Linked DNA regions of Homo sapiens: region 1 is linked to region 2. Evidence: promoter capture Hi-C in 16 types of primary human blood cells and fetal thymus (Javierre and others, 2016). All regions are on one chromosome and are shown on one strand. Each heading gives the region's core, a stretch centred on a gene start or on the middle of the fragment in contact. The rest is flanking DNA. Distances are from core to core; before and after follow the strand shown.

Region 1 (2,700 bases), core at 1-2,500, 61 kb before region 2:
CGGAGGGGTCTGGGGGCAGAATTACCTTCAATGTGGACTTAAACTCTGTGTTTTTGAGAGTTCTTGATGACGAGGACAGTGACGACTTAGAAGCCCCTCTGATGCTATCGTCTCATCTGGAAGAGATGGTTGACCCAGAGGATCCTGATAATGTGCAATCAAACCATTTGCTGGCCAGCGGGGAAGGGACACAGCCAACCTTTCCCAGCCCCTCTTCAGAGGGCCTGTGGTCCGAAGATGCTCCATCTGATCAAAGTGACACTTCTGAGTCAGATGTTGACCTTGGGGATGGTTATATAATGAGATGACTCCAAAACTATTGAATGAACTTGGACAGACAAGCACCTACAGGGTTCTTTGTCTCTGCATCCTAACTTGCTGCCTTATCGTCTGCAAGTGTTCTCCAAGGGAAGGAGGAGGAAACTGTGGTGTTCCTTTCTTCCAGGTGACATCACCTATGCACATTCCCAGTATGGGGACCATAGTATCATTCAGTGCATTGTTTACATATTCAAAGTGGTGCACTTTGAAGGAAGCACATGTGCACCTTTCCTTTACACTAATGCACTTAGGATGTTTCTGCATCATGTCTACCAGGGAGCAGGGTTCCCCACAGTTTCAGAGGTGGTCCAGGACCCTATGATATTTCTCTTCTTTCGTTCTTTTTTTTTTTTTTTTTTGAGACAGAGTCTCGTTCTGTCGCCCAAGCTGGAGCGCAATGGTGTGATCTTGGCTCACTGCAACATCCGCCTCCCAGGTTCAAGTGATTCTCCTGCCTCAGCCTCCCTCGCAAGTAGCTGGGATTACAGGCGCCTGCCACCATGCCTAGCAAATTTTTGTATTTTTAGTAGAGACAGGATTTTACCATGTTGGCCAGGCTGGTCTCAAACTCCTGACCTCAAGTGATCTGCCCTCCTCAGCCTCGTAAAGTGCTGGGATTACAGGGGTGAGCCGCTGTGCCTGGCTGGCCCTGTGATATTTCTGTGAAATAAATTGGGCCAGGGTGGGAGCAGGGAAAGAAAAGGAAAATAGTAGCAAGAGCTGCAAAGCAGGCAGGAAGGGAGGAGGAGAGCCAGGTGAGCAGTGGAGAGAAGGGGGGCCCTGCACAAGGAAACAGGGAAGAGCCATCGAAGTTTCAGTCGGTGAGCCTTGGGCACCTCACCCATGTCACATCCTGTCTCCTGCAATTGGAATTCCACCTTGTCCAGCCCTCCCCAGTTAAAGTGGGGAAGACAGACTTTAGGATCACGTGTGTGACTAATACAGAAAGGAAACATGGCGTCGGGGAGAGGGATAAAACCTGAATGCCATATTTTAAGTTAAAAAAAAAAAAAGCAAACACAAAGATGCTTCAAGATCTTCAGGAGAAGTATGGTATACAAGTTTCAGGGACCCTATTTGACAATTTTCAGAGTGCTCTCTATGCTGATTCCGAGTCGAGTGTGTCAGCTGTGATTACAGTGCCTGTGGATCTAGGCCGGGTTGGGGGGGTGTGGGCGGGGGAAGGGAAGTCTGGCCCGGAGCAATTGCTCCTGCCGGTAACCCCAGCACTTTGGGATGCCTAAACAGGCGTATCGCTTGAGGCCAGTAATTCGAGACCAGCCTGGGCAACATGGCAAATCTGTCTCTACAAAACAAAATTAGAAAAATTAACTGGGCGTAGTGGCATGTGCCTGTTGTCCCAGCTACTTGGGAGGCTGAGGTGGGAGAATGGCTTGAGCCCAGGAAGCGGAGGTTGCAGTGAGCCAAGATCATGTCACTGCACTTCAGCCTGGGTGACAGAACCAGACCCTGTCTTTAAAAAGGGAGTTGGTGGGGAGAGGTTCTAGAATGTCATGTAGCAACCAGTTTAAGGACTGGGACTCAGGGATCCAACTCCCACAGTTTCCCTGTGTGACCCTAGGCATTTGACTTAGCCTTTCTGAGCCTCAGGTTTTTTGTTTCTGAAGTAAAAGGATTGGACTAGGTAATCTCCAAGATCCTAGGAACCCAGGAGAAAGATGAGAAAATGTACAAGAATGAACACTCAGGTGGAAATGCTGCAATCCTGAGAAGCTCCCAGGATGAATGAAAGGCACAGGACCTCTTACCCCTCACCCCTGCCCCCCTCAAGAGCTGGTTTCTCAAACCTTTCTCTTAGGCCCCTTCAAAGGGGGAAAACTAAAAATTATACAAGTTATAGTTCAAGGACTTTAAATAGATTATTTATATGATTGCTCATAAGGATGAGGCTGTGAGGAGGGAACACCTTATTTAATCTAATGAAATTCCATAGGAAAGAGGCCTTTTGTATATTGAATCAATTTATCTGCCTTCTCAGTGCATCTGTCATATTCTGAAAGATTCTGGGTTGATCTTTTGCGATAACCTCTATGGCTGTGAGTGTGTGTGTGTGTTTGTGTATTTTTTAACATTTTGTATAATGATTGGAGGTTGGTAAAAAGTAACACAACAGTACTTTTTTAATACAAACTTGGTGTGGTCTTGAGTTGTCTTCCATTGGAGAGCGTACGTGTGCCACAGATTGGTGCACCTGCCGGCATCTCTAGGATTGCACCAACTCCCTCTAGCTCTTCTTGGTGGCCTGCAGGGGCCTAGGGCGCATTCACTTCCCTCTGCTTGACTTTACGTGGTGTTCTAGCGTCAGACATCAGGCGATGCCGTGCATTACCCAAGACACTGGACAGCTCCGGATCTTCC
Region 2 (2,700 bases), core at 197-2,696:
TATAGAGATGGAATATATATGGCATATAGAGATGGAATATATATGGCATATAGAGATGGCATATAGAGATGGAATATAGAGATGGAATATAGAGATGGAATAGATATGGAATATAGAGATGGAATAGATATGGAATATAGAGATGGAATAGAGATGGAATATAGAGATGGAATATAGAGATGGGATATAGAGATGGGATATAGAGATGGGATATAGAGATGGGATATAGAGATGGGATATAGAGATGGGATATAGTGATGGAATATAGAGATGGGATATAGAGATGGAATAGATATGGAATATAGAGATGGAATAGATATGGAATATAGAGATGGAATAGATATGGAATATAGAGATGGAATATAGAGATGGGATATAGAGATGGGATATAGAGATGGAATATAGAGATGGGATATAGAGATGGAATATAGAGATGGGATATAGAGATGGAATATAGTGATGGGATATAGAGATGGAATATATAGATGGAATATAGAGATGGAATATATAGATGGAATACATATATATTCCATTGCATTGTTCTTTACAAACATTCATTTAATTATGTAATTGCTAATTAATTGCTTGGTTGTTATAACAACGAAGTATTTGATTCCTTATTTTATCTCATCATTTAAATTTTATTTCGCATATTTTCACAATGCACTGGATCTATTACTGAGGAATTTAATTAAATAATCATTCGAACCATGGGCTCGAATTGTTTACTGATAAAGCCCGACGACCAAAACAGCCTAGCGACTGCTGTTTGGAGCCCCTCGGCCCAGGGCCCGTGGCTGTTCTCTCCAAGGGACCATCTCGCCCCTCAGCCAAGTCGCCCGGAAAACGAGCGCTCGACCGCCTCTGCCCCGCTCTCGCTCTGCACACAGCAACGGTCTGGTCGCTCAGCCACTTCCTCCTTCCAGCCTCATCTGGTTCCCAGGCCGCTGGGGACTCCCAACGCCACTGTCCAAGACTCTAGGGTCAGCAAGCGCCCCGGGCGGAGAAGGGCGAGGACGAAGAGCGCCGGGCCGCGACCAGGAGCCCACCCGCGCCCTCCGACTGCAGACATGGGGAAGAGACGCGGGAACTCCAAAGTCGCTGGGTCTGCGCAGGTGTGTGCCGCGATCCTGTGAAGGTCAAGGCCTCCTGTGAGGGGGAGTCGTCCTGGAATGCGATGGTGAAGTGCTCCAGACCGGCCATAGGCCGGAAAGAGTGAGGAAGAAGAGAATGCAGGAGGCCTGCGATTTCTAAGGCGCGCGCGCACAGGGGTGCTGCAATTAGGATGGGGCAATGGGAGCTTGGAGAAGGGGTGCTAGCTAGGAGGAAAGGCGCGTGCGTGGAGGAACGGCGCGTGCGCGGAGGGGCGGTGTGTGTGTCAGAAGAGGCGGCGCGTGCGTAGAGGGGCGGTGAGAGCTAAGAGGGGCAGCGCGTGTGCAGAGGGGCGGTGTGACTTAGGACGGGGCGATGGCGGCTGAGAGGAGCTGCGCGTGCGCGAACATGTAACTGGTGGGATCTGCGGCGGCTCCCAGATGATGGTCGTCCTCCTGGGCGCGACGACCCTAGTGCTCGTCGCCGTGGCGCCATGGGTGTTGTCCGCAGCCGCAGGTGAGAGGCGGGGAGGAGAGTCTTGGCGCAGGGCGGGAGGTAGGGCACGCAGCTGGGCTACGGGGGCGGCGATGCTGTTGGGGGCGACAGACGCCCAGTCTGGGAAACCTTCGGTCCACTTTGCCGCGCCAAAGATTAAACCCGACCTGGGCTCGCAAATCAACCAGGAGAAAGTGGTGTTCTGGGTCCTCTCTTGCCGCTTGCCTGTGGCCGTGTACGGGTCCTCGGGAGCGCCCGGGTCCCACCCCCGTGAAATGGCGGTGCCAGAGCTTTGTGTCGAGTTTGATTCTTTCCGGGAAAGTACCGCGGCTCCGCTGGTCTGTTTGATAATAAACAAAACATTTCCCGAAATGCATTTCCTCAATCTGGTGAATAGGCGCCCAGTCCCACGGGGGAGTGAGCTAAGTGTGGCCAGGATTTCTCTGCCCTCAGGATTCATACAGGCCAATAAAAAATGACAGTCGGAGTGACTGAAGCATAATTGTCAGTTCTCGAGGTTTACTAAGCCTGCTTCAGGGCGCATCCGGGAAAAACGTGAGCCACAAACACGTCTGTGACTGGTTTTCCAGAGGTTTTCAGGAGGTGGGGCAGGAAGGCAGTAAGGCAAATAGTTCTGTGAGAATTTAGTTAGTGCCCAAGAAATCTGTATTTTAAGATACCATGAGTGTCTTGAAGAGAAAAAGAGAGTAAAGGGAGTCAGTTATGCAGATGCCTCTGGGTAGATGGAGTCTTGACTTTGTTTTGCACCTGAGAAGATAAGCTTGTAATTGACATGGTCAGTGTGGAAGGCCTGAACTAGTTTTTCAGATTAACTTTGGAATGCCATTTGTTGAGAGGAGAGGTCCATTCACATTGTTGGGGGGCTTAGAATTTTATTTTTGGTTTACTTAACTACCTACTTTTTTCCCAAAGAAATAATCATGTTCAAAACTCAATGAAATGTTATCTCAATGAGATTGTAATGTTGCTCAGTCTTTCAGAAGTCATAAAAATAGTCATACTTTTTAAACTAGTAAATGCAATTCTAGGACCCAAGACTAAGAAAACTGTCCAAAATATGGGAAGACATTTTTATTTATACTTTTTTTTTTT

The links. The method cuts DNA at HindIII sites, captures the fragments that hold promoters and counts their contacts. A CHiCAGO score of 5 or more calls a contact.
Region 1: a fragment that was not itself captured here is called in contact with the fragment with the promoter of IFNAR1 in region 2 in 1 of 17 cell types (total B cells); the score reaches 5.1 in total B cells.

What each region holds. Positions count from the first base shown.
Region 1 is chr21:33,263,193-33,265,892 of GRCh38, forward strand. The region is part of intron 7 of IFNAR2-IL10RB (IFNAR2-IL10RB readthrough); the gene reads left to right. IFNAR2 (interferon alpha and beta receptor subunit 2) reads left to right here. Exons shown (of 9, transcript NM_001289125.3): 9 at 1-2,472. The coding sequence ends at 308. It overlaps IL10RB-DT (IL10RB divergent transcript), which reads right to left. Exons shown (of 2, transcript NR_038974.1): 2 at 2,440-2,700. Among named protein-coding and RNA genes, the nearest start is that of IL10RB-DT, 1.7 kb to the right of the region's middle. RefSeq lists an enhancer at 2,691-2,700. The HindIII fragment of the contact is 3,561 bases long and covers 1-2,700 here.
Region 2 is chr21:33,323,524-33,326,223 of GRCh38, forward strand. IFNAR1 (interferon alpha and beta receptor subunit 1) reads left to right here and starts at 1,447. Exons shown (of 11, transcript NM_000629.3): 1 at 1,447-1,608. The coding sequence starts at 1,533. RefSeq lists promoters at 151-1,434, 788-1,458, enhancers at 471-1,373, 661-870, 1,091-1,140, 1,374-2,275 and cis regulatory regions at 879, 1,370-1,379, 1,436. The HindIII fragment of the contact is 6,325 bases long and covers 1-2,366 here.